5 separate regions of the Homo sapiens genome follow, and all the other regions are linked to region 1. The links are contacts of gene promoters, found by promoter capture Hi-C in human tissues and cell types (Jung and others, 2019). All regions are on one chromosome and are shown on one strand. The core of a region is centred on a gene start or on the middle of the fragment in contact, and the rest is flanking DNA. Distances in the headings are between cores, read along the strand shown. Region 1 holds the start of SF3A1 (splicing factor 3a subunit 1). Region 2 holds the start of NIPSNAP1 (nipsnap homolog 1). Region 3 overlaps NF2 (NF2, moesin-ezrin-radixin like (MERLIN) tumor suppressor). Region 4 overlaps MORC2 (MORC family CW-type zinc finger 2). Region 5 holds the start of ASCC2 (activating signal cointegrator 1 complex subunit 2).

Region 1 (6,350 bases), core at 2,859-5,358:
GGGACACCAGTCCTACCTATTGCCTACCCCAGTGCCATGTTGTGGTTTTTTATGAACTAAAAGGCCCAAGCCAACAACGTCTCTTTAAAAACCCTTGTGCTGATTCAGTGCTGAAGTCTCTTCATGCTGAAACCCACCTCTGACCCACCCAAGTAGCTCTGTTACCTGGCCACAAAGCTGGCAGTCTTGTCAACAATATTTCTGACCTCTGGAGGAGGGTAAATAATCCCCACAACTGGCTTAGAAGGTGCAGAATCCTCCTTTGAAGATGCTTCTTCTTCTGTGGGCTGTGCAAACAGGAAAAGAAATAAGGTTTTAAAGTCCCTGGTTCAGAGCAGGTTCTCCACTGTAAAACTCCTCTAGGATATCATTCAGAGTAGACTTTCATTCACAGACTTCCCTCAGGTTAGAACCCTCTACTTCAGAAAAGCAGTTCTCTTAAGTTCACTGCACCTGCAGGGGCTGCTCCTGGGGACCCAGGGAGAAGAGCAGCTTCCCTGGCTCCTCTCTCACTGGACTATCTCAGTGAGACCAGGAATCTGCATTTTTACTATGGTATGAGACCAGCACTTCTCCTGTTGTCCTTCCCAGTTTCTCCCCAACCTCCCCTTTTCCCTAGTTTATAAGACAGGAGAAAAGGGAGAAAGCAAAAAGTTGGAAAGAAACAGAAGTAAGATAAATAGCTAGACGACCTTGGTGCCACCACCTGGCCCTGGTGGTTAAAATAATAATAATATTAACCCCTGACCAAAACTACTGGTGTTATCTGTAAATTCCAGACATTGTATGAGAAAGCACTGTAAAACTTTTTGTTCTGTTAGCTGATGTATGTAGCCCCCAGTCACGTTCCTCACGCTTACTTGATCTATTATGACTCTTTCACATAGACCTTTAGAGTTGTAAGCCCTTTAAAGGGCTAGGAATTTCTTTTTCGGGGAGCTCGGCTCTTAAGACACGAGTCTGCCGACGCTCCCGGATGAATAAAAAACCTCTTCCTTCTTTAATCCGGTGTCTGAGGAGTTTTGTCTGCGACTCGTCCTGCTACATTACCAAATGCCCAGGTGATTCAGATGCAGGGACTCCGACTACATTCTGAGAAACCATGTTCCAGAATCCAGGCCATGTCTGTAACCCTGCACCCAGCGATGGGCTTGGCATGGAATTTTTAATGATTGTTTGCTGAATAAAGAAATGGGAAACTATCTGCTGACAAATTCTTCTGCCCTGAATGCCCTCTCTGCCTCTACTCCACTGTCTTAACCAACATTCAATGCTCAAGTGTTTTGTGAAATTCCACTGGAAGGCTCAGCACTAACGATCCCATAAGTACCAATATTTTTTCACCAGCAGCTTCTTCCCCTTAGTAAACAAAGGGTCAAGTCTCTTATCTTAGAGAAACGAAGTTTCTCCTCTGCCTTCATGTTCTTTTCTGCCGCTGCCTTCTCCCACACCTTCCTCTGGCAGCTAAACATCCTGAGTTCTCTTCAGTCTTGCTGGTCCCACTTCCCTGCCTCCCATCTGGTCCCCATTCATTTTAAGTGCTCTTGACAAAGTCAAAAACAACTGCCCACAGCCATTATCTGGGCGTGAATGGTGACCACTCCTTCACAAAACTCTCAACTCCTAGGCCCCATTCTTGCCTGTCTTCCCATCTTGCTCACCATTCCATTCAAGTTTCCTTCCTGACCCGTTTCACCTCCTGCACTGTGAAGCTGGAGATCCCCACTCCCACCGCCCAATTCTGTTCTTGGTTCTCTTCTCAGTTTTTGGTGTCCTCCACTTCCCCTTCCGCCTCTAGACTAAACAATCTGGCCCAAACTGATGTCCCAGAACACTCTTGTGTACTAAACAGCTTCAGGTGCAGCTAACTACTGGGCACTTTCATCTCTAACCTCTTTCCTCAGGAATAGCTACCCAGTCACCCATGCCAGAAAGTTGGGGGCTCCTCTCTCTTCCTCAGCTTCCACACTCGATGATAATAACGTTTATCAAGTTGGGCACAATGGCTTGCACCTATAATCCCGGTGACTCAGGAGGCTGAGGTAGGAAGATTGCTTGAGCCCAAGAATTCAAGGCTGCAGTAAGCTATGACTGCACCACTGCATTCCAGCCTGGGTGACAGAACGACACCCGGTCTCTTAAAAAAAACTTTTATCAAGCTATGAGTAGATCCCAGGTATTTTTCCCAAGCACTTTAAATATATTAACTCTTATAACCTTTAGAAGAAGCCTATAAGATTAAGTACTCTTTTTTTTTTTGAGACAGTCTCTTGCTGTCGCCCAGGCTGGAGTGCAGCGGCATGATCTTGGCTCATTGCAACTTCTGCTTCCCAGGTTCAAGCAATTCTCTCCCGAATAGTGGGGATTACAAACATGCACCACCACACCTGGCTAATTTTTTATTTTTAGTAGAGACAGTTTTGCTATGTTGGCCAGGCTGGTCTCAAACTCCTGACCTCAAGTGATCTGTCTGCCTCGGCCTCCCAAACTGCTGGAATTACAGGCGTGAGCCACTGGACCCGGCCAAGAACTCTTAATATCTCCACATTACAGATGACAAAACTGAGAGATGGAGAGCTTAATGTCCAACTGGCAGAACCAGGATTCTAACACACCACTCTGGCTGAAGAGCCTGCCTACCCCCTCTGCCCTAATCTCGGCCAGGCCTTCAGCCTCTTTGGAATAGCGTGACTGGCCTCCCCTCATAGTGATTCTCCACACGTCTGCCTACCTGAATTTCTGAAACACAAATGTCACTATTTGGCTTAAAACACTCCCTTTTCTTCCCACTGTCTACAAGGAAAAGTTCAAATCCTAAGTAAGAATCGCATCTCCTGCCACTACGCTCCTAAGTCTATGCTTCAACACTTGTTCATTTACTCTTGATCAGAGACACCGTTTGATTCACCTCGGTGTCTTTGCGCATATTATCTGGCTATTACCTTATTTTCCCCCAATGCCTGGGAAAATGCCAGGGACACACGGGCACTTAAATATTTGTGGAAAAGGCATGGCTTCTTCAGTCATGTTCCCCCCCCCCGCCCCCCTTATTCTGAACCCAAAGCAATGATCAGCGTATGTGTTCAATAAATATTTGCTGGATGAATAAAGGATGCTATTTCCCTTCCCTAGTCACCTACCTGGCAAACTCCTATTCCTTCTTCTAAAAGAAATTTACCTCTCACTCTTGTGGGCTTCCCTACCTTAATATCCCTTCTAGCCCAGCAAACAATGTTCATTAGATTTGTACCTGAAACTTCTATCACAGGGCATATCACACCATACTACAATGGTTTGTGCACATTCGAGATTGGAGAGCTTTATTAAGGGCGGGCTGGCACTGTATCATCGATGGCCATTGGGACAACAAACATTTGGTGAGCATTCTCATATGTCTGTCTTCTCGTTAGCCTGTGAGCTCCCTAGGCAGGGACCATGCCCCATTCATTCCGGTAATGTGGGAGCCTGGCACGGTGTCTGGCTTGGGGCAGACACCGAAATAGATGCTGAGAATTAACATCCAAAGATGTACCGTGCAGGCTGGGAAATTAGCCATTACTGGGGAAAGGCTGTGGCCGGCGGCCCCAACTGCTACATAAGATCAGAGGATGGGCTGGATCAGCGCCTCTCGCACTTATAAATCAATCACCTTAGGATTTTGTTCAAATGTAGATTCCTATTTAAAAGATCTACGGCGGAGACTCCACATTTCTAAGAAGCTCCCGGCTCGTGCCGACGGGGCTGCTCCGCGGACCACTTAGAGAATCCCGTTCAGGGTGGCTCATTTCGCTACCAGAACACCACCATAGCGCGGGAAGCGCGCAGCCTCTTGGGACTTGCAGTCCCTCCAAGCCCTTCATAGCGGCCGGCCGCTTATTCCTGTGCGAGTAAGGAGCGCCCAGGCCAACCCTCCGGCTGCAGGCTGAGGGGCGGGGGAGAGGTACCTGTTTGGGCTCCGTGGGCACGGGCGGCGGCGGGGGCACCGCCTGCACGGGTCCGGCCGGCATGACTGCGACGCTCAGGGCTGCCAGTCCGCCTCGGTGTCGGTGAGCGGTGCCGCCTCAAGACAGCCTCCCCGCTCGGTCAGTACGACGAGCTCGCAAGATGGCGGCGGCCGAGCGAGTTGCGGCCGCGAAGGTACGACTGGCGCACTTCCGGGACCGTCCCCTCGCCGTGACGCGCTTCCCGCCCCTCCCCGCGGGCACCGCGGCGTCCGACGCCGTTGCCAAGGCAGCGGCCTGAGCGCCCGGCTAGGGCTTTTCGGGGATCCCGGTGGCCGCAGGCGCACCGGGGGCAGTTCCGGGAGCCGACCAGACACGAAGGCTGAAGCCGCGACGCCGAAGACAGGTGAGATGTTGTACGTCACCCGCCGGACCCCCGCCGCACTCACCTCGCGGCTCCTTTACTCCACAGGCCAGTACCTCGCTCCCTTCGACCCCGCCTTCCAAGAGCCCAGCTCCCTCCCATTGGTCTCTCATTTAGGAGAGCCCCTGTCCCCTCAGGCTCACCGCCTAAGAGCCCCACTTCCCTACTCCCTTAGTCCCCCCTTTCATTTCAGACCCACATCCTCCAAGCCCCGCTTCCAAATCCTACGCCCTTAATTCGCTTTTCCCACGGAACCTGCCTTTTCTTGCTTCCATCCCCTGCCTTCCGTAGTCCCGCCCTCAAGCCCCACTGGGGGCCTCCCTCTCAAATCAAGGCTGCTGCTTTCTTTGTCTTTCTTTTTTCTTTTTTTCTGAGACAAGGTCTTGCTCTGTCACCCAGGCTGGAGTGCAGTGGCGCGATCTTGACTCTCTGCAACCTCCGCCTCCCGAGTTCAAGCGATTCTCCTGCCTCAGCCTCCCGAGTGGCTGGGACTACAGGCGCCCACCACACCCGGCTAATTTTTTTTTTTTTTTTTTTGGCATTTTTAGTAGAGACGGGGTTTCACCATGCTGGCCAGGCTGGTCTGGAACTCCTGACCTCAAATGATCCGCCCGCCTCGGCTTCCCAAAGTGTTAGGGTTACAGGCGTGAGCCACCGCGCCCGGCCAGTTTTTAAATTTTTTTTTTTGTAGGGACATGGGAGGACGTCTCCCTATGTTGCCCAGGCTGGTCTCAAACTCCTGGGGTCAAGCGATCCTCCCGCCTTGGCCTCCCAAAGTGCTGGGATTACACGCATGAGCCATCACGCAGGGCTGCTGCTTTAGGCTTCACCCCTCACTCTCACAGATGCAGCCCTGCAAGCTATGCGGCTCGCTCCCCAGAGGCCTACCTCGAATCCCGCCGGCTTCTCTCCCTCTCCTGCGATTCCCCCCTCTCTCCTTCCTCCTCTCCTCAACTCTGGAAAGCGGGGAGCTGGCTCCGAACCTGTTCCTGGACTTCAGTTTCCTCACCTGTGAAATGAGGGAGTGATAGGAAAGGTTGCTCTCTCAAGTCTTCCCCCTCCCCCCACACACATCGTAGCTGTGTGTCATGGTTGTTATTAATGTAGAATAATGATAGCTGGGATGTATTGGTCATTTACTATGAGCCGGATACTGTGCCCAACACTTCATGTGTTACGTCATTTATTCCTTATAGCAACCTATTTACAAATGAGGACAGTGAAGTTTGGAGTTGGTAGAGTGGGAATGCAAGTTCAAGCCAGTCTTATTCCTCTACTAGTGCAGTTAGTTATTTTGCCCTCAGTCCCTTCAGTATCCCCAGGGATCCAGGCAATTAACAATCTCATGTTTGAGACTGACATCTGCCACATAGCTGGTTTTAGAGTTTCCCGTGTTTTCATGGTGGTGGCTTTGAATCTCACCAGGCACCCTGGCTGGGAAGTAGGCATCATCTTTACCGAGTAGGGTTAGGGTACTAGTTCTGAGAGAGAGAAGGCGCTTGAATGTTGAACGGAAATGCAGGAAAGGCTCCTGCTCTTCTCTGGGAGTCAAAAGTCCACCTTGAGCCCCAGGAAATTGAGGAGAGGCAGAGATAGCTGCTGCTCCTCCCTAAGGGCTCAATTAGTGCTGTCACCTATGTGGTCATGGGTACAGTGCCGGGCTGGCAGCTTCAGACTGAGGGTTCCACTCAAGACCCAGGAATTGCAGAAAGAGCTCACGTCAAGTGCTTCTTCACTTGACACACACATAAAGTACTTCTTAAACTATGCTTGTATCTGCATGACTTCAATTTTCAGAAGAAACAACATAAGGTCATCTTGGATTTTCCTGACACTTGGGCATTTGCTGCTGCTTATCTGATCCAGGATCTACTGGGAGTTGATATCCAGGATGGCCCCATGTGGCAGCTATAGTTATTTGAAGGTGAACAGATCAGTGTTTCCTGGTGCCTTCACAAGCAAGCTTATGAATTCCAGATGCTTTG
Region 2 (6,350 bases), core at 1,458-3,957, 780 kb before region 1:
AAGCAATCCTCCCACCTTGGCCTACCGAAGTGTTGGGATTACAGGCGTGAGCAATGGTGCCTGGCCCAGGTCCATCTGATTTCAAAGCCCACACTCCATCCCCACCCCAGCAGCCTCATTGCCCCCAAACCTCACAGGCCAGAAGGGCTGCTGCTGGCCCTACTAGTGACTCTGGAGAGATATGGGGCAGCCTGAGGGGCAGCAGGACAGAGTGTTCTCAGGTATCCAATGTGGAATTAAGGTATAAGTAACTGCAAGACAGTCCTTGAGGGACTTGATAAACATTAATTCAAGTGGCTTCATAGCAATCCTGCCGAAAACACCAACATCCCCACTTTACAGAAAAGGAAACTGAGGCTGACGGAGGTTCAGCAACTCATCCAGGGTCACTGAGTGAGGGGCAGCAGGCTGACTCTGAGACCCATGCTCCTTTTACAGCCTCTGGGTGTTTGCCACACAAATGGTTTTACCACCAATCCATTCTGTCCCTTCCCCAATCTTGATATTTTTATCTGGAAAACAAAGGGCTCATAAAAGATGATCTTCCCAGAGCCCTTTGAGCCTCAACATTATGTGGGTCACATGCAGAAATTGCTTGAAACATAGGCTAGGGGTTAAGGAGCAACACTTACTGCATGTTCGTCAAGTGCTAGACACTTCACAACCACGGAATCTTTTTTTTTTGTAGACGGAGTCTCGCTCTGTCACCCGGGTTGGAGTGCAGTAGCGTGATCTCGGCTCACTGCAACCTCTGTCTCCCGGGTTCAATTGATTCTCCTGCCTCAGCTTCCTAGTAGCTGGGATTACAGGGGTGAGCCATCACACCCAGCTAATTGTATTTTTAGTAGAGACACGTTTTCACCAACATGGTGAAATTTTTGTACTTTTTTTTTTTTTTTTTTTTTTTTGAGACAGAGTCTCACTCTTGTCGCCCAGGCTGGAGTGCAGTGGCAGGATCTCGGCTCACTGCAAGCTCCGCCTCCTGGGTTCACGCCATTCTCCTGCCTCAGCCTCCTGAGTAGCTGGGACTACAGGCGCCTGCCACCGCGCCCAGCTAATTTTTTGTATTTTTAGTAGAGATGGGGTTTCACCGTGTTAGCCAGGATGGTCTCGATCTCCTGACCTCGTGATCCACCGCCTCGGCCTCCCAAAGTGCTGGGATTACAGGCGTGAGCCACCGCGCCCGGCCATTTTTGTACTTTTTATAGAGACAGGATCTCGCCGTGTTGCCAAGCTGGTCTTGAACTGCTGACCTCAAGTGATCTGCCTGCCTCGGCCTCCCAAAGTGCTGGGATTACAGGCATGAGCCACCATACCCGACCAACCACAGCATCTTTAATCCTCAACAACCCTATGAGATACATCCTGATTACTCCCATTTTACAGATGAGGAACCCGAGGCTTAAAGAGTCCTGAGGTCACCCCACCTACAAAGTCTGAGTTAGATCTGTTAGTGCCAGGCAAACTCTAGGCTTTTCCCACGGTGTCAGCTTTATCCCTAATTATTGGGCAGTCTAGGTGGGGCGCTTATGCCACTCCTCTTTCCCAGCTGTCCAAAAGCCCCACTGCTCTGTGCTGTAACATCTCATGGCAGGCACTATCAGAACTTTGCAGCTTCATTCCTGGGCTGCAGGGCAGGAGGGATGGTTGCTTCCTTTTCACAGGTTGGGGGAGGGGGAACAGGTGGCCTCACTTCTTTGGTAAATATTCCTTGACCATACACAGTCCTGAGCCCTCTGAGGGTGGGAGGCTGGGGAAACAGAGAAAAATGAGATCATGGTCTAGTGAGAGAGACAGACAAGCACCAAGTCATAACTGTGCAGGGTCATATATGCAGAGATGGGGGAAGTACAGGGCTGTGGGGACCAAGGAGTGAGGGGCTGCCCAGGGCCAGTCAGGGAGGCCAAGCCCTAGCTCAGCCCAGAGCAGGGCCCAAACAAAAGCCCAGGCTGAGAGCACATGGCCCAGCCAGACTCCCACTCCCAGGAGGCCACCAGTTGGGTGCAAAGTGCATGGCGCATTGGCAGGCCTGGGTCCCAGACCTGGTGCTGCCACGGCACAGCAGGGAGGGTGACCTTGGACAACTCCCATTCCCTCTCAGGTCCGTTTCCCCACCTGTACAGTTCGAGGTGGAGGAACAAAGGGTCTGTGCAGCCATGGCCCCTGGGGATCCCCCACTGCTCCCCTGCCATCATCTCTTTCCCACAGAACTTCCCGACGGAGGAGCTGACTACCAGAAGCCCCCAGTGGGTGTTAAATCACAAGCTACGCCTGGGAATGGGCCACTCCTCCTGTCTTCTGCCCTCTCCCACTCTCCAGGGCCCAGTACCTGCCCTTCTCACCATCTTTCATCAGGTCCCCATCACAGCCCGGTCCCAACCAGGACAAAGACCCTACCCATCCCTTTCTCACCTCCCCCATTCTTTGCCCAGACCCCTCCCTAGGCCTTGATCCTGCCCCGCCTCTAACCCCCAGATTCCAAGCGAGGAGTCTCAGCCCCTCCCCCACGACCCAGTCCCTGGCCCCCGCGCCTGCACCCCACCCCGCGCGCGTCTATCCCTGCCTGGCCGGGCTCTCACCGCGCCGCAGCTGCAGACGCAACGTCCCCAGCGCGAGGCCCCGGGCCCCCCAGCAGCCGCCGCGCCGTCACAGAGATGCTGCACAGCCGCGGAGCCATGTTGGAGCCGCAAAGGTTGCAGGAAGGCCCCGCCCCCAAGCCCTGGTGGCGGAGGCGGGGCGCGAATAAACTCCACCCCTCCGGCTCGCCCGCCCCCTCACTCACCCGGTCAGGTGGGCGTTTCCTGTGGGCGTCTCCAACTCCGCAGGTGCTGGACGGAAGTCAGGGTTCTAATCCTCTGCGCGCTCTGCGACCTTGGCAAGCCCTTTGCCCACTCTGGGCCTCAGGATCCACCTCGGTAAAATGGGAGCGTGGAACAATAATACCAAGGGTTCTTTTTTTTTTTTTTTTTTTTTTTGAGACGGAGTCTCGCTCTGTCGCCCAGGCTGGAGCGCAGTGGCGCGATCTCGGCCCACTGCAAGCTCCGCCTCCTGGGTTCACGCCATTCTCCTGCCTCAGCCTCCCGAGTAGCTGGAACTACAGGCGTCTGCCACCACGCCCAGCTAATTTTTTGTATTTTTAGTAGAAACGGGGTTTCACCGTGTTAGCCAGGATGGTCTCGATCTCCTGACCTCGTGATCTGCCTGCCTCGTGCTCCCAAAGTGCTGGGATTACAGGCGTGAGCCACCATGCCCAGCCTACCAAGGGTTCTTAACAAGGCTGTCCGGGATGTGCAGCAGAGGGTCAGTGTAACCACCCCATGGGTTCATTTTGCCCGTTTCCCAGACAGCGGATTTATCAAGACAGAGGAATTGCAATAAGAGTTTAATTCATGCAGAGCCGGCTGAATGGGAGACCGGAGTTTTATTATTACTCAAATCAGTCTCCCTGAAAATTCGGAGACTGGGTTTTATTAAGGATAATTTGGTGGGTAGGGGCCAGAGAGTGGAGAGTGCTGATTGGTCAGGTCGGAGATGCAATCATAGGGAGTGGAAGCCGTCCTCTTGTGCTGAGTGGATCTCTGGGTGGGGGCCACAAAACCGGATGATCCGGTTTCTTAATCTGTGTATCGCCAGCGGATCCATTGAGTGCAGGATCGGAAAAATATCTTGAGCACCAATCTTAGGTTTTACAGTAGTGATGTTATCCCTAGGAGCAACTGGGGAGGTTTAGAATCTGTGGCCACTACCTGCATGACTCCTAAACCGTAATTTCTAATCTCGTGGCTAATTTGTTAGTCTTACAAAAGCAGTCTGGTCCCCAGGCAAGAAAGGGGTTTATTTTGGGAGAGGGCTGTTATCTTTGTTTCAAAGTTGAACTATAAATTTGCTGCCGGGCATGGTGGCTCATGCCTGTAATCCCAGCATTTTGGGAGGCAAAGGTGGATCAGAAGTTTAGGTCAAGAGTTCAAGACCAGCCTGGCCAACAGGGTGAAACCCCGTCTCTACTAAAAATACAAAAAAATTAGCCAGGCATGGTGGCGGGCACCTGTAATCCCAGTTACTCGGGAGGCTGAGGCAGGAGAATCTCTTGAACCCTGGAGGCAGAGGTTGCAGTGAGCCGAGATCGCGCCACTGCACTCCAGCCTGGGCAACAAGAGCGAAACTCCGTCTCAAAAAACAAACAAAAAGACTGTAAGTTTGGCCTATGCCCAGGAATGAATATGGACAGTTTGGGGGTTAGAAGCAAAATGGAGTCGGTTAGGTCAGATCACTTTCACTGTCATAATTTTCTCACTGTTAAAATTTCTGCAAAGGGGTTGCATCAGTAAGCCCCCTGAAATTGTATACAACGTTACGTGCTCCTCTGTGGTGCATTCTCTGGGGAAAGGCATTCACATGCCAGGTTTATCACCATCAAAGAAACAAACTTCCTTACAAGTGAAGACAGGGGCAAGGCTGTCAGCTGCAGACACTTTATCTCCACCATCTCCTTTCCCCTTTTCATCCCCCTTTGACTTCTCTGCCTGAAAATCCTGGGGCCTCTTTCTGCCCTGCCCAGCTCTTTTGCCCGCCCTCTAAACTAATCCCTTCTCAGCCCACAATCCCCCAGATCACAGACATTGGCAGGGGTGGAGAGCCTGCAGACCCCACAGGGGGCAGGGGCTCTATCCACTTCCAAAGGGGCAGGGACAGCTCCCCAAAAGAATGTCCACCCACTGACTAGTGGTTGCCTCCTGTTATGCTTGGCATGGGGGGAGTGGAGGCCAGGCCATGATTGCACCACTGCGCTCCAGCCTGGGCAACAGAGCAAGACCCAGTCTCTATAAAAAAATAATAATAATTTTAAGATTAGGACCACGTGTGGTGGCTCATGCCTGTAATCCCAGCACTTTGGGAGGCCAAGGCAGGAGGATCTATGAAAATTCAAAAAATTAGCTGAGCATGGTAGCACACACCTGTAGTCCCAGCTACTCAGGAGGCTGAGGCAGGAAAATCACTTGAGGTAGGAGGTCCAGGCTGTAGTGAGTTATGATTTTTTAATTAAATAAATAAATCAGGCTGGGTGCGGTGGCTCATGCCAGTAAATCCAGCACTTTGGGAAGCCAAGGTGGGTGGATCACCTGAGGTCAGGAGTTCGAGACCAGCCTGGCCAACATGGTGAAACCCCATCTCTACTAAAAATACAAAAATTAGGCCGGGCGCAGTGGCTCATGCCTGTAATCCCAGCAGTTTGGGAGGCCAAGGCAGGGGAATCACCTGAGGTCAGGGGTTCGAGACCAGCCTGATCAATATGATGAAACCCCATCTCTACTAAAAATATAAAAATTAGCCGGATGTGGTGGCATGTGCCTGCAATCCCAGCTACTCAGGAGGCTGAGGCAGGAGAATCACTTGAACCCAGGAGGCAGAGATTTTAGTGAGCCAAGATCGCGCCATTGCACTCCAGCCTGGGAAACAAGAGCGAAACTCCGTCTCAACAAAACAAACAAATAAATAAAATAAAAAATAAAAATACAAAAATTAGCCAGGCATGGCATGGTGACGCACACCTGTAACCCCAGCTACTCCGGAGACTGAGTCAGGAACATGGCTTAAACCCAGGAGGCAGAGGTTGCAGTGAGCCAAGATCGCGCCACTGCACTCCAGCCTGGGTGATAGAGATTCCATCTCGAAAAAAAAAAAAAAATCAAAGTCAGTATGATCTTAGCAGAGTCCCCAGTCAAAGCCACTCAGGAAAAACCCAGGTGGGTTGATGGAAGCACAGCAAATGGTGTCATGTGGTGGGAGCAGCTCTTTCCTTAGGAACCCAGCGTGGCAGACTGACTGTGGAGTGGTGGAAGTGACCACCTCCGCCAACCTGACTTTGGACCTGAGCTTCAAAGGATGAGTAGGAGTCTGCCAGGAGAGAGGGAAGGACCAGCGGAAACTCAGAGGAAGCAATGTGTACTCAGTATGTGAAGGGGCTGCCAGAGGCCAGGCGCGGTGGCTCACGCCTGTAATCCCAGCACTTTGGGAGGCCGAGGCAGGTGGATCAATTAAGGCCAAGAGTTTGAGACCAGTCTGGCCAACATGGCAAAACCCGATCTCTATTAAAAATACAAAAAGTTAGCCAGTCATGGTAGCCACACCTGTGGTCCCAGCTACTCTGGAGGCTGAAGTATGAGAATGGCTTGATCCCAGGAGGCAGAGGTTGCAGTGAGTGGAGATTGTGCCACTGCACTCCAGCCTGGGTGACAGCAATACTCTGTCTCAAAAAAAAAAAAAAAAAAAAAAAAATGAGGGGTGTGTGTTGAGGGCTCTTCCAGGAAGAAAGCACAGTTGAATATAATGAATGGGTGGAGATTATGTGA
Region 3 (6,350 bases), core at 1,147-3,646, 730 kb before region 1:
ACATTGAGGCTGACATGTAAGTTGAGCAAATCTTAACTCAAGCTTCAGTTTCCTTGTTGGGGCCGCTGAGGCAGCATAGCCTAGAGATTACAAGCATAGACTTCAGAGTTTGATTCCTGGCTCTGCCTCTAACCAGCTTTGCAACCTTAAAGCTCCTTAACCCCCTCACATGCCTCTGTTCCCTAACTGTAAAATGGTGAATGTAATTAATTCTTCCTGCATAGTGTTACAAGAATTAAATTTGAGTAATTACTGGTAAAGTACGTAGAATAGTACCTAACACAAGATAAGTGCTATATATAATGGTTGTTACCTAAAGAAATAACAGCCTGGGCAACATGGCGAAACCCTATCTCTACAAAAAATACAAAAATTAGCCGGTTGTGGTGGTGTGCACCTGTGGTCCTAGCATCTCGGGAGGCTGAGGTGGGAGGATCACATGAGCCTGGGAGGTCGAGGTTGCCATAAGCTTCCTGATTGCACCACTGCACTCCAGCCTGGGTGACAGAGTGAGACCTTGTCTCAAAAAATAAATAAATAAAATAAATTAAAAAAATAAAAAGGAAATAAGTTCAGTGCCTGTCGTTAGCTTGCTCCCTTTCTCAGCCTCTCCTCCACTTCCTCACGCACCCTCTTGCTCTGAGCCTATTATCCTGGTCCCTCCTTCACACTGCCACATCTTTGCATAGGCTGTTCTCTTTGCCTGGAATGCCATTCTCATTTGTTGCTTGGCAGAACTGAACTCATTCTCCTTCTAGGCTCTGCTCAAGGGTTTCCTCTTCTTTGTGTCCAAAGTCACCACATAGCTTCTAAGTGATGGGACTGAGATTTGAAGCCAGGTCATCTGTCTTTCAGGCCAGCCCTCTTTCCACTACCCTATGCTACCCAAATAGGAAGCGTAAAAGAGAAGTAGGAGAGAAAAAGTTAGAAACCTGGAGAGAACTTAGGTATTTGGTAAACAGGAAAAAGAAAGTGGAAAGAAGAGATCATTTGAAGGACTTCCTCAACTTAACAACTATTTGCCTATGGCATTATTTTATTGCATTTGGTGTATGATACTATCTCAAAAGCATTTTGTAAACTTGCCAGTGGCTTACATTTTTGCCGGATGAATGACATGACTAACGATCCGTGCTACATTACCTCAGTGTCTAGTTTGTCATTTTGAATCAAGTGGACATTTTCTGTAAGTGAATCATTTTCACTTGCTCATGATATAATGAGAATTCCTTACCTTTGGCTTAAAATGAGGCTTATGTTATAACAGTTAAGCATTGTCTAGTTGCATATTTAACATAGTCAGAATGCTCCTGCCTGTATTCAGCCTGGTGTCTTATAATATTTGGTATGCCCACCTAGATAGCAATTGGTAACATCTTTATTCTGAGACTCTTTCATGTATGGATTTTGAAAAGTTAGTTAACTGTTCAGACGACATTGTTTCTTTGACTTTTACAATCCGCTTCCCTCTCACTGACAGTTCAGTTTTGGAAGACCCTGTATTTTTTTTTTTTTTTTTTTTTTTTTTTGAGACAGAGACTCGCTCTGTCGCCCAGGCTGGAGTGCAGTGGCGTGATCTCTGCTCACTGCAACCTCCACCTCCCGGGTTCAAGCAATTCTCTTGCCTCAGCCTCCTGAGTAGCTGGGATTATGGGTGTGCACCACCACACATGGCTAATTTTTGTATTTTTAGTAGAGACGAAGTTTCACCATGTTGGCCAGGACGGTCTCGATCTCCTGACCTTGTGATCAGCCTGCCTCGGCCTCCCAAAGTGCTGGGATTACAGGCGTGAACCACCGTGCCCGGCCTTTTTTTTTTTTTTTTTTTTTTCGAGATGGGGTCTCACTCAGACTGGAGTGCAGTGGTGCTATCACAGCTCACTACAGACTTGACCTGCTGGGCTCAAGTGATTCTCCTGCCTAAGCCTCCCAAGTAGCTGGGACTACAGGCACATGCCACCAATACCTGGCTAATTTTTTTGAAGAAATGGGATCCCGCTATGTTGCCTAGGCTGGTCTGGAACTTCTGGGCTCAAGCGATCCTTCCGCCTCAGCCTCTCAAAGTGCTGGGATTACAGGCATGAGCCAACATGCCCAGCTAGAGATGTGTGTGAATTGGTAGCTTCAAGCTAGATATTGGAGGCTCATGAAGCCCAGGTTAAAGAGGCTTGTATTCATCAGATGCGATGAAGAGCTTTGAAGTTTTTACTAGAAGTGTGATTTAAAGTGGTTGGCATGCAAAATGATTTGGAACGTTTGGGGTTTGGGGTAGGGAGAGAGAGGTTGGAAGTAGGAAACAATTAGAAGGCAAACGCTTTGGGCAAGGTATCACATTGAAACCTGAACAGCAGTGGGACTTGCTGGGGGTTGGGACAAAACTAGGCAGATGTAAGCATCTAGTGAATCTAGAGATTAGGGTGTTCTGTGACCAAGAATGAGCAGAAGACCTGCTAGGCTCAAGATTCAGGAGATTCTCAGGTCCAAAGCCAGTCCTCAGTCTCCGAAGTCAGTCAGGCAGAAGGGAAGTTGGATCAAGCTGGCCAGAGTTGAGCTCAGGAAGTCAGTGCACTTTCTCTTGTCTGGTTCCTGCATCGTTTTACTTGTGTAAAATCATCAAGATCCCTAAACCGATGTCTGAACACCAGGCTTCTAGGCAGAGCTCCACCGTGTGACCTTGGGCGCATCACTTATTTCCCCCAGGCCTCAGTTCTTCTGAAAGATGAGGGGAAGAACTCACATTCAAAGGCCCTCAGCTTTAGCGTCTTATTTTAGGTGATCTGGGCAGAAGAGTCTCACTGTGCTCCTCTCCCTTTCATATTTCCTGCTTTGGTAGGAAGTCATCTCAAGACTTGAGTGTATAGGCATGAGGAAGTCTGCTAGAGGACAGGAAGAATATTGCTTAAAGAATAAGAGCTACAGCCCTGATGGAAGGGGTAAATTGGCCTGGGAAAAGCCCTGCCTCTGCTACCTGCTTCCCAAGTGACCTTGAACTTAACTCTTTAAACCTCAGTTGCTGCATCTATAAAATGAGAATAATAGTATCTTTTTTATAGGGTTTTTTTTGTTTTGTTTGTTTGTTTTTAGACGGAATCTCCCTCTGTTGCCCAGGCTGGAGTGCAGTGGCACGATCTCGGCTCACTGCAACCTTTGCCTCCCGGGTTCAAGCGATTCTCGTGCCTCAGCCTCCTGAGTAGCTGGGATTATAGGAGTGCACCACCACGCCTAGCTAATTTTTGTATTTTTAGTAGAGATGGGGTTTTGCCATGTTGGCTAGGCTGGCCTGGAACTCCTAACCTCAAGTGATTCTCCTGCCTTGACCTCCCTAAGTGCTAGGATTACAGGTGTGAGCCAACGTGCCTGGCCAGGGTTGTTTTGAGACATGAATGAGGTGGACCTTTACAGGCACTTGGTTCAGGGCCTGACCCGTAGTGAGCATTTGATAAATGTTACCTATCTATGTTGTCATGGGCTGGGAGTGTGGGAACAGGAAGTGTCTCATGCCAGAAGCACTGTGAATTTTCTCCTTTAATCATTGCCTTCATTTTCTTTGAACCTTATTCAGATTGTCCATGCCTTTGTAATTGTAGACCCTCTAAACTATAATTAGTCCAAATAAAATGGACTCACCTTATGCCATGTTCTTGTTGAAGGGTCCTCTTTCTTTCTTTCTTTCTTTCTTTCTTTCTTTCTTTCTTTCTTTCTTTCTTTCTTTCTTTCTTTCTTTCTCTTTCTCTCCTCTTTCTGTCTCTCTCTTCTTTCTCTCTCTCTCTCTCTCTCTTTCTTTCTTTCTTTCTTTCTTTTTCTTTCTTTCTCTTTTCTTGCTCTATTGCCAGGCTGGAGTGCAGTGGTGAGATCTCGGCTCACTGCAACCTCCGCCTCTGCCTCCCAGGTTTAAGCGATTCTCCTTTCTCAGCCTTCCGAGAAGCTGGGACTACAGGCGTGCGCCACTAATTTTTGTATTTTTAGGAGAGACGGGGTTTCACCATGTTGGCCAGGATGGTCTCGATCTCTTGACCTCGTGATCCACGCTCCTCGGCCTCCCAAAGTGTTGGGATTACAGGCACGAGCCATTGCACCCGGCCAGATCTTCTTTTTTGTAACATGCTAAGTAATACAATCTCTATTTAGCTTGATGTCCACGGTGATAGCAGGATTCTTTTCGGATTTCTGCCATAGTTAATTATTCTGCATTCTTTTGTCCCTAGTGTGTCATATTGAAATTTTTCTTTTTTCTTTGTTTTTGATGACTTCTCCAGTTATTCATGCTAGTTTTGCATTCCTGTCCAAGAACATTTTTGCTGCTTGTTTATTTTTAATTTCATAAACTAAAGCGTTTGAGGTTTTAAAAACCCAGAATTGAGTTTTCTCAGAGCTGCTAATCTTTCTAGCCAGCTGGTGACGAGGCTTCTCAATTCTTGTTACAGGATGATGTGTTCTGTCCTCCTGTCTGTGCTTTGTCTAATTTAGATTCTAAATCCACATGTTTAGGACATTTTTAGCGTGTCAAAATTTATTACCAAAGTAGTGCTGACTTCAGGGAAAAATTTTTAATGGAATCTTTAGTCACTCATGTTGACACAAGGTGCTTGTCCTAGTGCAGGAATCTGTGTGGCACCACTAGGTGGTGCCAGACTGCATCATTTTTAAAGACAGCCTTTTCTCTTCCAACTCTTTTGCCACTGTTCTCTTTTTTGCTTCTTTGCCAAATTTGGACCGAGCTTTGAAAACTTCATATAAACTTTCTCTTAGTGAGTTATGTTGCTTATAGCTTTTCCCTCCACCTTGCCTGTTTTAGTCTTCTTGTTTCAATAGTTTTGATAGTTTGACATTCAGATAAAACTTAAAACTGAAGCCCAAAGTAATTACTAAATGTATCTCGACTGATCTGTGGTTTTAAATTCACCAACAGTGCATCTCCCTACTTGCTTAATCATATTGATTTTGAGATTAAATCAGTCTCATAAATATGTTAGTCTTCAGCCCACGGTAGTTCTCATCCATCTGCAGACTTTTTTTTTTTTTTTTTTTGAGATGGAGTCTAACTCTGTCACCAGGCTGGAGTACAGTGGCGCCATCTCAGCTCATGGCAATCTCTGCCTCCTGGGTTCAAGCGATTCTCTTGCCTCAGCCTCCCGAGTAGCTGGGACTACAGGTGCTTGCTACCACGCCCAGCTAATTTTTGTATTTTTAGTAGAGACAGGGTTTCACCATGTTGGCCAGGATGGTCTCGATCTCTTGATCTCGTGATCCACCCGCTTCGGTCTCCCAAAGTGCTGGGATTACATGTGCGAGCCACCACGCCCAGCCCCATCTGCAGATATTTTTACCAGTCCTATCCACTCATGCCTGTACCTTCTAATGTTATTAAAGTCAGTTTTATTATCATTGATGACCATGAGACTTAATCAAAAGGTCAAGCTAGAAACAGAGAATATTCAAAATTTCTTTCCAGGCAAACATCTGGGTTCAATAGAAGCTAGTTCACATGAATGGATCATGCTCTAGCTCTGTTGTGCTGGAGCTTTTTTGAAGGAATGCATTGTTACATACTAACCACAATTTTTACATTGTCCAGGGCAGGAGTAACCAGTTGGTTGATACTTAGTCAGGGGTTGTGTTTCGTAATCTGCTAGTTGTACTTGATGTTTAGGCATTTGAAATTTAACCTTGTGCCTTATTTGTGCTGAATTTACTATTGTTTCCTATTTGTAGTGCTCTGCAAAATTATTCTCAGTATATCACACATTTGTAATCATTGCCAATCACTGAATATCAATAACATGCTAGGTGATAAGAACTTCTATTTTTCAGCAGCATTATCATTCCCAATTTTACTACATCAGAGAGTTCATCATTATACAGTCAACTCATGATTATTAGGAGTAAGGAACGTAATAGCAGACCCTGAATGAGGGAAAAGAATGTGAAACCACACATAAACTAAAGGTGAAGTCATTTACATCCCTGAAAATGATTTTAAGATACAGAATGAGATGTTAAAGGATCAAAAGAAAATTATCGTAGCAATGAAAAATGCTACATGGTTTATACAAAGTCATGTCAAGCTCATAGACTCAGAGAGTGGTGTTAATCCTGAAGACCACTTGATGATTATGGAAGCCGAGACCCAAAGAGGTTAAGTGACTTACCCAGCACAGCGGGTTTGGGTGTTTTATAGCTGTTTGACTATATGAGCTATGATTGCTCTCATGTTGTGAGCTAAATTCCAAAGATATTGTCGTGTTTGCTTTTGTGGGGACTGTATTGCTTTCATAGCATGATGGTTGTATTGTTTCTTTTTGCTTTGTCATCTGTCAGTCAACTTTGAAGTGAATCTTCTTTGTTTACAG
Region 4 (6,350 bases), core at 2,416-4,915, 600 kb after region 1:
CCAAGGAAATTCACCACCATGAAGCACATGGAGGCACAGCTTTGCCTGGCCTGTTGGTACCTCTATCACTGTGACCTATGTTCTATTCCCAGAATGTGGTAAGACAGCTAGCAGAGGCATCTGTAGGTCCAGCTCGAGAATGTTGTGCAAGCTGATAAATACAACGCCAAGAGACAGGTAATCTGATTGACTTAAGATTGCCTTTCAGATCCTATCTCCCATGTTAGGACAAGACCTGGCAAATACATTAGTAGAATTAAGCCTGAGATGTTGCAACAGACTTCTTACTCCCCAGGTGGATCTTCTAGACATAACATTGGAGGCAACAGAAAAACAAGTTCACACAATAAGTATTTTGTAAAAATGGTTACATCGCACCCCCCCACCCCCCAAAACAATAATCTCATCACTTACTTGGATCCATTCCTGCTCCATCATCCAAAAAGCAAAGCATAAATCCTCCTCGAAGGTCCTCTCGTCTTTCTGTAAAAGAAGCAGCTGCCATTACTGGGCCGTTACCCACCACAGGGTGGCAACATGCCTATGATCAGAAGGCAGATCAATGTGAAGCTTGGTCCAAAAAGGTCAGGTCAAGCCTAAACTTTCTACGCTGGTGTGAATTAAACTTCAGGGTCCTTGAGGTTGCAAATTCCCATCCAAGGTTCTCCAATGTTTTCTAGATCATGACAAAGCTTGGGAGAACCTTTGAAGGCAGGAATATCTGGTCCAGCATCTAATCATACCCACTACCACTGAATATGCACATACCTCACACATATCTCAATCATCCTATCCTTCTGCTCACTCCACCTGGATTACTATCACTTCTGCCCTATGCCATAGACCCCAAGCACTAAAGTACTCCAACTACCACACACTGTACTTTATCAATACTGCTCAAACTCAACAGGATGCCTCCTTTGTGAATTAAGTCTGGGGTATCCTTCAAAGTGATGAAACCAGACATGGTATGGGCACAGCAGTGGAAGCTGCTATCTAAAAGATGAAGTACTGTGTCTATACATGACCATCCCTAGGCTGACTGGCATTCTGGGCTATCTGCATTTACTGTCATATCCCCTGCTAGCTATGGTCCTTGAAAGGGCTCCCCATCCCAACAGTGAGAAGGCACATGGTACAACGTGGAGGTGCCTTGTTCCTAGCTGGACCTGCCTGATGGGAAGAAGGAATGGTCCTTTGACAATAAGATGCACAGCAGCTGTGGTGGGGTTTCCTGGCCAACAGAAAAGGAACACAACAAACTACGGCTGCCATTCTAGTGAAAAGAACGTCTTCTCTCAGCAGTTGTCTTCTGCAGCAGAAAGTGGTTAACTGAAAGTGGTCTGGGTCCAAGCATGTCATGGTCAATGGAGAAGCGATTCCCAAATATGGAAACAGGCTATACTAGCTTCCAAGGTGCCTTTTGACCCAATGATGAGGACTAGGTGAGCAAAAGAGAAACCAGCCTTGGAATCAAGGAAGTTGGTAGACACAAAGAAGAGAAGGATGTAAGGCAGAGGTATAGGGAGGAGACCCACACAAGCCAAGCAAGCCAACTTCCCATATAGATGCTATTCAGTCTACTGACTGGCACAGGGATAAAGGTAGCATTTCTAAGAGGAAAGAGGTCTGTGTAAGGTATTACAAGGGCAAGCCCAAGGCTGCTCTGCAGCCTGGTCCCTGATGATTTCGGAATCTCCCCCAAGCTTCAGTTAACCAATTTTGTACAACTATCTAAGCTGAGAAATCTGTTTTAAATGCTCTTTGTCCTTTCTTCAGGCTAAAAATTCAAGTGAGTAGGGACTGCCCTCTGTCAAATAGACTTATTAATGTAAATTAAAATGCTATTTTTTTTTTTTTTGAAATGGAGTCTCACTCTGTCGCCCAGGCTGGAGTGCAACGGCGTGATCTCGGCTCACTGCAACCTCTGCCTCCCAGGTTCAAGCGATTCTCCTGCCTCAGCCTCCAGAGTAGCTTCTGTAAGGCTATAAACCACAGAGATTTTCAAGTACCACTCAGTGTTCAGGAAGCTGAACATTAATTACAAGTGCTTCTTGAAAGTACAAGGGTGAGGATCTTCCTGGAAGTACTATTGGTTAGATAAAATCTCTCCTGGTGGCAGTGCCTCTAATCAGAGTCTGGGGAATCCAAATGAGACGTGGCAATCAAGAATAAGTACAATAAAAGTCCAAAAAGGCTTCAAAATTTCCATCTGGAGGAAGCCAAGTGTCATAAGGAGACTCAAACTGGGTCAGGTACAGAGAATGGTAAAAGCAGCATTCTAAACCTAGCCAAGAGCCATTTGCTGTACACTACAGCCGCAAAATGTGCATGAAGACTCTGCTTTGGGATCTAGAAATTGATTCAAGCCAAGCACCTCTGAAAAGTCCCCAAGGACTACTGGCATTCTTTGGACACTGCCTAAGAAGTTACTTTCTAGGCTCTTGTGTTAGGATAGAACTCTTAGGCTGCTTTAGCACACAATCATCACTTAACAGTGGGGCTGGTATCCTTTTCTGGCTCAAGGACTTCATTTCAAAGCTTTTTCGTGTAGTTTAAAGGGTAAGAGATGACACTGGGGGGATCCTCCTGGCTACATAGTAACTGACAGCCTATAAATGGCTAGTAGTGTCTAGGTCCATGGCCACATGCAATACTGCCTCAGGGCCAAGAAAGACTAAGACAGCATTGACTTCTTCAACTTTGTAAACAGACAGTGTGGTCTCTTCACCTTGTTCAAATGCTTATGCCAATCACTTGTTTATTTAATGACTACTTAGTGATCAGCTCTTCTGTGCCTGGTTATGATGAGGACAAGAGCAGTGAACAGTACATATGCGATCACTGTCTTCATGGAGCTTACATCTAATGGATTCTACTGCCTGCAGCAGATAAGCTAGGAAGTAAAGGACAGGAGGGTTTAAGCTGAAGGAAGCTTAGAAAAGTATTGGCTAGAGCAAAATGTAGTATGGGTAAGAATTATCCAAAGAGCTTGTGAAAATAGATTCTGGGCTCCCCCTGGATAGTCTGGGTACGTCTGAGGTGGGGCATTCGCATTTCTAACAAGTTCCAAGATGATATTGACAACATCTGTGGATGGACCACCTTTTGAGAAGCACTAAACTAGAGCAAGCAAGAACTCGAAGGCGTCCCTGCTCAAAACTATCTCCTCATATATTCCACCATAGAGATAGATTCCTATCACCTGATATTTAATCAGTCAACTGAGTGATATCTGAAGCCTCCAAAGATAAAGGAAGGGGAATTCTGGATAAAGAAGAGTCTAAGCAGCTGGGGGTTGTATGTTCCCCGCCTCCCATCACACATCTTGAAAGTAAGAGAAGGCAAAGCCGAACTGCCTGCTTTGCAGCTGTGCTTCATATCCTGGGAACAGCTCTGTAAGACTGTCAAAGCCAATCTGAAAGTCTGCACATCTCCCAGAATGGCCAAGTCTGGCTTCTGCAAGCCAGACATTCTTCATCTAACTCCCACTGGGAAGAATAAAGAAAGAAAGCAGGAAAAGACAAGAGATGTCAAATGGAGCTATACATCCAAAAGTCAAAGGTGATAAAATAATGGTGTCCCCAGGAGAGGCTGCAATAAAATGACATCCAAGTTCTTCATCATACTCTGCAATCTGTTTGAGCAGTATTAATTGCAGTTTCATTTGCTCCAATTTTCCATGTGTTAATCATTGCCCTGGCATCACGAAAAGGATCTTTCTTCCAAGGAGGTGGCACTACCTACCCCAGAAGGTCAAGAAAGTCAACAAAAACAGTCTGCTTATGACAGGCATATTATGGTCTATAATAATAATCCAACTAATAATAATATGCTTTGGGTAAATGAACACCTCTACACTTTGAGAGGCTGGCTCCTTTTTTGCCCTTTTTAGGTTTAAAAATGGTCTTTAAATGTGACTTTGTGGTGACTTCAAACTACATCTGATGTTTGGAAAGATTTCCAAGTCCAGTTATCAATCAGTTTCAGAAGTGGAGATAAGAAAATACTTTCCCCCATGAACTAACAACAAGAACTTTATAGTATTAAGATTATTACTGGCCAAGCGCATCGGCTCAGCCTGTAAGCCCAGCACTTTGGGGGGCCAAGGCAGTCAGATTACTTGAGCTCAGGAGTTTGAGACCAGCCTGGGCAACATGGTGAAAAAATATATATACAAAAATTAACCAGGTATGGTGGTGTGTGCCTGTAGTCTCAGCTGCTCGGGAGGCTGAGGTAGGAGGATCACTTGAGCCCGAGAGGTGGAGGTTGCAGTGAGCCTAGATAGCACACTGCATTCCAGCCTGGGTGAAAAAAAAAGATTCCACGGACTGATTTCTCCTGTTGAATGTGTTAACAAGGCCCTGTGGTAGAAAAGTGTAGGGTTAAAGATCCCTTAGCCAAGAATCCCAATCTCCTGGTACTTGAAGTAAATCAAGTCTTTTTCCAAAATGCTATGGTGCTTAGTGCTTCTATCACACCATTTAATCCTTAACTGTCTTGACTGTTCCCTCAAGATCTAGTTATTGTTCTCTAATTATCCATAGTGCATTAATTGTCTCTCCAATTAAAGACTAAGTTCTTAAAGCAAAGACCCCCATCTCCTCCTCTCTGGACATTTCCCAAAGCATAACAGGAGTTGTACTGAGCACAGAATAAAGACACACTGGGTCCTTTTTCATTTAAATTGAAATCCAACTTCATTCTGAGTGTCAGGAACTAAACTTCCTTGCTGAAATTTACCCACCAAATGTAGTAGGAGACAGCAGAGATGATCTTTTTTAAAAAACGTCTTCCAAGTAGACTTGACCATTACGATTTGTACCTTCAACATCACTTGGAGAAGAGGCCCATTCTCTGCTTTAGCATCTGTGCATTGATTAAATAAGCCCTATTTTTCCAGCGGTAGCTGTTACCATTCCTGAGAAAGCACACTCAGATGTAAGATACATGCTTTGGCTTGGAAAGGCACCTCCATCTGGCCTGAGCATTTTTTTTTTTTTTTTTTTTTTTGAGACGGAGCTTCGCTCTTGTTGCCCAGGCTGGAGTGCAATGGTGCGATCTTGGCTCATGGCAACTTCCACCTCCTGGGTTTAAGCGATTCTCCTGCTTCAGCCTCCCGAGTAGCTGGGATTAGAGGCATGCACCACCACACCCGGCTAATTTTGTATTTTTAGTAGAGACAGGGTTTCTCCATGTTGGTCAGGCTGGTCTCAAACACCCGACCTAAGGTGGTCCGCCTGCCTCGGCTTCCCAAAGTGTTGGGATTACAGGTGTGAGCCACCACGCCCAGCCTTGGCCTGAGCATTTAGTAATCATCTTCTAACATTCTTTTCCTGTGTGCCCCTATTTCCTGTTACTTTCTTCTAGAGAGAAAAGAAGCCTTATTTTTACCACTTTGGCAGAGCCTTTTGAACAAAAGGCTTTCAGAATTGAAGCAGTACAGCTGACTTTTAGCTGCTCTGAGGATTTTCTTTGCTCCAAAGTATAGCAGACATGAGAAATTCATCAAATCTGGGGCAGATTCTTCATAATTATATGACATTAGTGGTTCTGAGAATTACTACTTAGTTGTGTGCTTGTTCCCATTCATCAAAAGGGTCCATGAAGAGGGGTTATTTCATTCCCATGTAAACATACAGACTTCTCAGAACCTAGTTCATGCTACTCAAAATATCACCTCACACATTTCAGAGGATTTCAGAAAAGTCTGTCAGAAAAAAACACATCACACTAGTCGAATTGTATTTAAAAGCTGTCTTCCGGCCAGGTGTGGTGGCTCACGCCTGTAATCCCAGCACTTTGGGAGGCCGAGGCAGGCAGATCACCTGAGGTCATGAGTTTGAGACCAGCCTGGCCGACGTGGTGAAACCCCGTCGCTACTAAAAATACAAAAAATTAGCCGGGTGTGGTGGTGGGCGCCTGTAATCCCAGCTACTTGGGAGTCTGAGGCAGAATTGCTTGAACCTGGGAGATGGAGGTTGCAGTGAGGCAAGATCGTGCCACTGCACTCCAGCCTGGGTGACAAGGTAAGACTCCATCTCAAAAAAAAAAAAAAAAAAAAGCTGTCTTCCTCCATTCTGCTTTCAAATTTTTAGTATTCAAATGACTAAAAAAGGTGCTAGTACAAATACCAGGCAGAAAGCAAACTATTAAAATTAATGAGTTAATTAATTAAAAGGCCAATGACTGTTGCACTCACTCTAGGAAAAGGAGAAGATCTTACTACAAAACAGCAGAGCCAAATAAGCAAAACGAAATAGGATGTTGACAGGTGTAAATTCCAAGCCAAGCAGCCTTCCTTCCTGACACCTCTGAGAACAACTCAGCAAACCTCAGAGCCAATCCAG
Region 5 (6,350 bases), core at 1-2,500, 520 kb before region 1:
AGCTATGTAGATAAGGCTCATGAAGCTGTGGCAGCATTTAAAAGAGAGACCTGGCTTGAGGAAGAAGTGATGTCAAGGAAGACCTGAGTTTTTGTCTAAAGCACGGGTACAAATTAAGTAGGCAGGGCTGGGCGCGATGGCTCACGCCTGTAATCCCAGCGCTTTGGGAGGCCAAGGCGGGCGGATCACGAGGCCAGGAGATCGAGACCATCCTGGCTAGCAAGGTGAAACCCCGTCTCTACCGAAAAAAAAAAAAAAAATTAGCAGGGCGTGGTGGTGCATGCCTGTAATCCTAGCTACTCAGGAGGCTGAGGCAGGAGAATCGCTTGAACCCGGGAGGCGGAGGTTGCAGTGGGACGAGATCACGCCACTGCACTCCAGCCTGGGCGACAGAGCAAGACCCCGTCTTGGGGGGAAAAAATAAATTAACTGGACAATCTGAACTTTGAGCTCCAAAAGGACAAACAATAATCATGACTATGTCTGTGCCCACCACTGTATTCCCCTGCCAGGCAGGACAGCAAAAGCCAAAAGCTAAGAAAGGGAGGGGGAGCTCCCTACAAGCACCCAATTGCAATATGGCCTGGGAGCATCCCCGGGGCTACTGCTCCCTCAGCCTCTTTGTCATCATTCCTCTAGTCTCTCAATTAAATACTACTCTCCTCAGAGACCTTCTGATGGCTCTGCCTATAGTATCCACTCTCCCAGTTACTGTCATAGCTTTAATGACCTTGTGCATTTGCTTGTCGTTGACCATCTCCTCCCACTAGACTGTAAGCTCCATGAGGGCAGAAGCCTTGTCTGTCTTGCTTTCTTTGTATCCCCAATGTCTAGATCTGTGTCTGGCACATAGGAAGCACTCCACAAATATTTGCTGAACGAATGAATGAACCCTGAGGAAACTGAAGCCCCGGGTGTGAGGACGTGGGGGGATCGTGGCTGGTCCAACGCCACTCTGGGGCCGAACTTCGAACCCGTGGCTCCTGACCCTGGCGGCCAAGTCTCGAGAGGCGGCTCACAACCCCTCAGGTAGCGTAAGCGTGGGCCCCGCAATGGAGGCCAGAGGATGGGAGAGCCAAGGCTGCCCAAGGCATAGCCGCGGCTCCTCCGGGGTCCCTTGCCCTGCATCTGGCAGGGACCAGCCACGCACTCACCTCGGCGGCTCCACCACCGGCTCTGTGCCGCCGCCGCCGCCGCCGCCGCCGACCACGGTGACAGCTCCCTGAGCGCCCGCACTTCCGGGGTCAAACTGCGATTCCGCAGGAGCAGACAGGAAGTCTCGGCCTGGCCCCGCCCCCAGAGCCGAGCAAACTACCGCCGGGAAGCCGGACCCGGGTTGCGCCTCTCTTCTTAAGACTCCGCCCCACACTCGGCGTCTGTAGCCACGCCCCCTTCCCCTCCTATCTCCCTTCCTGCTTAAGCAGAGAATAGGTCAGCTGAGGGCGGGCTGTGTGATTACACCTCTCGGGAAATCCAAGTATGGCACCTGAGAGGACGTCTCGGAATCCCAGGCTTCCACCTTCTGCCCGACCTCCTTAGTCACCGTTTTACATATTTAATCCAGAAGAGAAATTTTAACAAGTCAAAAGCACGAACATAATGTTAAGCAGATGTACAAGTACAGACTGCGATTTCATTTACGGGAAATTCTAGAACAGACAGAACTCATGAGTAGTGATGGTGTTAAAATTGGTGGTTTCCTCTGGGGCTGTGGGCTGGGAGGGGCCACAAGTGAGGCTGGGGTCACCCCCTGTCTTCATCTCGGTGGTAGCCATGTAGATGTGTTCACTTTGGAAAATTCATCAAATTGTACGCTTAAGATTTGTGCATTTTTCTGTATGTATGCAATACAGTTTTGTTCTGTTTTGTTTAAGGAAGTTACAAGTATAGCTATCCTAAGAGAAGGATGCAATTTTTTCTACAGAATGTCTCAGGTAATGTAGGTTTAGTGGTTCCTAAGCCTGACTATGGATCAGAATCATCACAGAAAACTTGTTAAGAACACACATTCCTGGCTTCATCTCAGTGCCTGGTACACAGTAAGAATTCAAAACCAACCACCATCATTATTGGGGTGTTATAGAAGCCCCCGAATGGAGAACACAACCCCACCCTGGGATTGTGAAATATTTCCCAGGACACTCCTGCCAACCCCTGCTATCTGCACTAGGGCTACAAGGAATGCTTAGTTCAGTGCCTGTCTTCAAGGGGCTTACAGGATAGGAAGTGCAAGAAAACCAATAGCAATGAGTCAGTGTGATGAATGCAGGGTGCTAAGGAAATAGGAGAGATGGGCTGTAAACCAGAAATGAGATGAGAGGGGCTGGATATTATATTAGTTTTGTATTGCTGCATAACATATTACCACAAACTTATAACAACACACTGCTTGCCACTTATAACAAACACATTTATTTATTTATTTATTTTGAGACAGAGTCTCACTCTGTCACCAGGCTGGAGTGCAGTGGTGTGATCTTGGCTCACTGTAACCTCTGCCTCCCGGAGGTTACAGTGGGTTCAAGCGATTCTCCTGCCTCAGCCTCCCAAGTAGGCAGGACTACAGGCATGAGCCACCAGGCCCAGCTAATTTTTGTATTTTTAGTAGAGACGGAGTTTCACCATGTTGGCCAGGATGGTCTCGATCTCTTGACGTCGTGATCCGCCTGCCTCAGCCTTCCAAAGTGCTGGGGTTACAGGCGTGAGCCACCACACCTGGCCAACAAACATATTTATTATCTCACATTTTCTGTGGGCCAGGAATCTGAGGATGGCATAGCTGGCTCCTCTGCATCAGGGTCACCCACAAGACTGCAATCAAGATATCGGCCAGGGCTGGAGTCTCATTTAAAGGCTCAACTCAAAAAGGATCTGCTTCCCATGTCTAGTGGCTAAATTCAGTTCCTTAATGGTTGTTGGACTAAGGGTCTCAGTTCCTAGCTGGATTTTGGCTAAAGGCTTGTCACGTAGGCTTCTCCAGTGTAGCAGCCTGCTTCATCAAAGCATGCAAGCCTAAAAGTTAATAGGGAAGCCAAGAGTGGTGGCACATGCTTATGGTTCCAGCAGGTTGGGAGGCTGAAGCAGGAGGATTGTTTGCGCCTAGGAGTTCAAATTGAGCCTGAGCAACATAGCAAGACCCAGTCTCTAAAAATTAAAAATAAATAAATAAATAAAAGAAGGCAATAGGGGCCGGGCACCGTGGCTCATGCCTATAATCCCAACACTTCGGGGGGCTAAGGTGGGAAGATTGCTTGAGCCCAGAAGTCTGAGGCCATCTTAGGCAACATAGCGAGACTTCGTCTCTACAAAAAAAAATTTAAAATTAGCCAGGCATGCTGGTGCATGCCTGTAGTCCCAGCTACTTAGGAGGTCGAGGCAGGAGAATTGCTTGAGCCCAGGAGTTCGAGGCTGCAGTTAGCTGTGATCACACCACTGCACTCCAGCCTGCACAACAGAGCAAGACCCTGTCTCAAACAAACAAAAGGAGGCAATAGGAGATTCTACTAAGAAGAGAGAAATTACAACCTCATGTAACCTAATCAAGAAAGTGACATCAGTTTTGCCATGTTCTATTTGTTAGTAGCAAGTCACAGGATTTGCCCACAGGGGATTACACAAGGGCATGAATACCAAAAGATGTGAATCAATGGAGGCCATTCTAGAGTCTGCCTGCCACAGATACTTGGAGGATGCATATCAACCCCAGGTCTGCAGCAGAGGAAGTAGAGGTGCAGAGAGATAAAGACAGTTGTGATAATAATGACCACATTTGTCAAACCCTTGCTTCATCCCAGGCACTGGAATAAGCATTTTACACATATTATCTCTTTGACTTTTTTTTTTTTTTAAATGAGATGGAGTCTCACTCTGTTACCCAGGCTGGAGTGCAGTGGCACGATCTTGGTTCACTGCAACCTCCGCCTCCCAGGTTCAAGCCATCCTCCTGCCTCAGCCTCCGTAGTAGCTGGGACTACAGGCATGCACTGGGCTAATTTTTGTATTTTTAGTAGAGATGGGGTTTTGCCATGTTGGGCAGGCTGGTCTCAAACTCCTGACCTCAGGTGATCTGCCCGTCTTGATCTCTCAAAGTGCTGGGATTACAGGTGTGAGCCACTGAGCCAGGTGCTCTTTGACTTTTTGTAACAATGATAAGAGGTAGACGCTATTATGACCCCATTTTAAAGAGAGGTTTAAAGACTAGACCAGAGTCACAGAGCTGGTAAGTGGGTGGAGTGGGGATTTGAATTCAGCCCTGTTTAGCCCCAAGCTCCAAGAGATCTCAAGGGCCACAAGCTGCGTCAGAACAGTGAATGTTTCCCTTTGTTGCTGTTATTATTATTATTATTATTATTGAGATAGGGTCTCCCTCTGTCACCCAGGCTGGAGTGCAGTGGTGTGATCATGGCTCATTTCAGCCTCTGCCTCCTGGGCTCAAACAATTCTCTTGCCTCAGTCTCCTGAGTAGGGGTGACTATAGGCATGCACCACCATGCCTAGCTAATTTTTAATTTTTTTGTAGAGATGGTGTCTCACTATGTTGCCCAGGCTGGTCTTGAACTCTTGGGCTCAAACGATCCTCCCACCTCAGCCTCCCAAAGTGCTGGGATTACAGGTATGAGCCACCATGCCAGCCTGTTGCTGTCATTTTTAGGAAAACTGATCTTCTACTGACATGGAAGGGACAGAAAAAGGTGCCAGAAACTGTGTGTTTTTGTTTTATTTTGTTTTTTCTTCTCTGTCATCCACACACACTGGGCACAAGGAAAATGCAATCTGTATCTTGGTGATTAGTTGGGAGAAAATCACATACAGCAGCCTTTGGTCCAGGAAAAACTTAAAATAGTAGATCTGGAGAAAATATATGCACTGGTTCCATCTTTCCCTATGGGTACAAAGATGTTCATATCACTAAGGTTTTGGAACTAAATAACATGACTGTAAGAAGACAAAACATCCAATAAGTCACCTAACTTCTCCAAACATATCTGTTTTCTCATCTGTTAAACAAGGTAGTTAATATCCACCTCATCATCATTAGAAGGCTTAAGGCTGGGTGTGGTGACTCATGCCTGTAATCCCAGCACTTTGAGAGGCTGAGGTGGGAGGATTGCTTGAGGCCAAGAGTTCGAGACCAACCCAGGCAACATAATGAGACTTAGTCTCTCAAAAAATAAAAATAAAAAAACTAGCTGGGTGTGGTGGCACACACCTGTAGTCCCAGCTACTCTGGAGGCTGAGGTGGGAGGATAGTTTGAGCCTGGGAGATGGAGTCTGCAGTAAGCTGTGGTTGTGCCACGGCACTTCAGTCTCAAAACAAAACAAAACAAAACAGAAGGCTTAAATGAGATAATATAGACAATGCCAAGAACACAGTAGGTGCTCAAAAAATGTTAGTGAAAAGGAAGGAAGAAAGGAGACTCCCTATCAGCTGGAGCGTTAACTTTTACATTTCTTTCATCTTTCTCCCTTGCCTAAAGAGCTTAATGAGGAATGTTGGTTTACAAAGGACACATTCTTGTCTGAGCTAATATGTGTCCAACTGAAATTAAATTTAAAAGCTGGTTTAACAGGAGAGGACTCAAATCATGCATAAGTCATTTGCAAACATGCAAATACAGAGTAATTTCTTGGCCTGGCTTCTCCTCTAGATTAAAAGAAAAACAACTAATTTAAGAACAATAGTTTGGGTTGGCAAAAGAGAGGAGTGTCCATGGTTCTTAAAACCAACAAAGTGTAGGGGTAACTAGGGAGAAAACTGTCAATATTCGGTGCCACGAAATAGACATTGAAATATCTAGGTCTGAGTCTTGCCTGGCCCAGACACTCTGAGTCACCTCAGATGAATCAGTGTTCCCTTCTTTTGCACATCAGTCCTCCAGCAAGCATGTGTTTGCAGAGCACTCATTGTTGAGATTAGCTGTTGTTTGGCATCCAGTGTTTATTTCCTCTGTTTTCCTACCAATAGCAACTTGATCACTCCTTAGGGAACTGTCACTCCCATTTCAATATGTGTGGAGTGGGGTTGACCCCTTACCCAGAGTTTAAGTGTCCAAAATTGTATTAGTCATCTGGGGCTATGCAAGAAATCATCCCACAATACAGTAGTTTAAAACAGTAATAGGCCAGGCACTGTGGCTCACGCTTGTAATCCCAGCACTTTGGGAGGCTGAGGCAGGCAGATCACGAGGTCAGGAGATCCAGACCATCCTGGCTAACATGGTGAAACACCGTCTCTACTAAAAATCCAAAGAATTAGCCGGGCATGGTGGCGTATGCCTATAGTCCCAGCTACTTGGGAGGCTGAGGCAGGAGAATTGCTTGAACCCAGGAGGCAGAGGTTGCAGTGAGCC

The links. Contacts are between HindIII fragments. The study calls those that stand out against the background at their distance.
Region 2: the fragment with the promoter of NIPSNAP1 here is called in contact with the fragment with the promoter of SF3A1 in region 1 in 5 of the 25 tissues and cell types used here (IMR-90 fibroblasts, adrenal gland, bladder and 2 more).
Region 3: a contact is called between a fragment that was not itself captured here and the fragment with the promoter of SF3A1 in region 1, in 2 of the 25 tissues and cell types used here (dorsolateral prefrontal cortex and spleen).
Region 4: a fragment that was not itself captured here is called in contact with the fragment with the promoter of SF3A1 in region 1 in 1 of the 25 tissues and cell types used here (small bowel).
Region 5: the fragment with the promoter of ASCC2 here is called in contact with the fragment with the promoter of SF3A1 in region 1 in 1 of the 25 tissues and cell types used here (hippocampus).

What each region holds. Positions count from the first base shown.
Region 1 is chr22:30,352,786-30,359,135 of GRCh38, forward strand. It overlaps SF3A1 (splicing factor 3a subunit 1), which reads right to left and starts at 4,109. Exons shown (of 16, transcript NM_005877.6): 1 at 3,945-4,109; 2 at 166-287. The coding sequence starts at 4,007. CCDC157 (coiled-coil domain containing 157) reads left to right here and starts at 4,222. Exons shown (of 12, transcript NM_001017437.5): 1 at 4,222-4,347. RefSeq lists a silencer at 3,806-4,055 and an enhancer at 4,991-5,590. The HindIII fragment of the contact is 21,616 bases long and covers 1-6,350 here.
Region 2 is chr22:29,578,406-29,584,755 of GRCh38, forward strand. NIPSNAP1 (nipsnap homolog 1) reads right to left here and starts at 2,708. Exons shown (of 10, transcript NM_003634.4): 1 at 2,580-2,708. The coding sequence starts at 2,677. RefSeq lists an enhancer at 1,869-2,481 and a silencer at 2,465-2,514. The HindIII fragment of the contact is 21,243 bases long and covers 1-6,350 here.
Region 3 is chr22:29,621,145-29,627,494 of GRCh38, forward strand. The region is part of intron 1 of NF2 (NF2, moesin-ezrin-radixin like (MERLIN) tumor suppressor); the gene reads left to right. Among named protein-coding and RNA genes, the nearest start is that of NF2, 21 kb to the left of the region's middle. The HindIII fragment of the contact is 8,231 bases long and covers 1-6,350 here.
Region 4 is chr22:30,949,963-30,956,312 of GRCh38, forward strand. MORC2 (MORC family CW-type zinc finger 2) reads right to left here. Exons shown (of 26, transcript NM_001303256.3): 4 at 415-483. Among named protein-coding and RNA genes, the nearest start is that of MORC2, 16 kb to the right of the region's middle. The HindIII fragment of the contact is 6,988 bases long and covers 172-6,350 here.
Region 5 is chr22:29,837,024-29,843,373 of GRCh38, forward strand. It overlaps ASCC2 (activating signal cointegrator 1 complex subunit 2), which reads right to left and starts at 1,251. Exons shown (of 20, transcript NM_032204.5): 1 at 1,155-1,251. RefSeq lists an enhancer at 1,524-1,583. The HindIII fragment of the contact is 14,310 bases long and covers 1-6,350 here.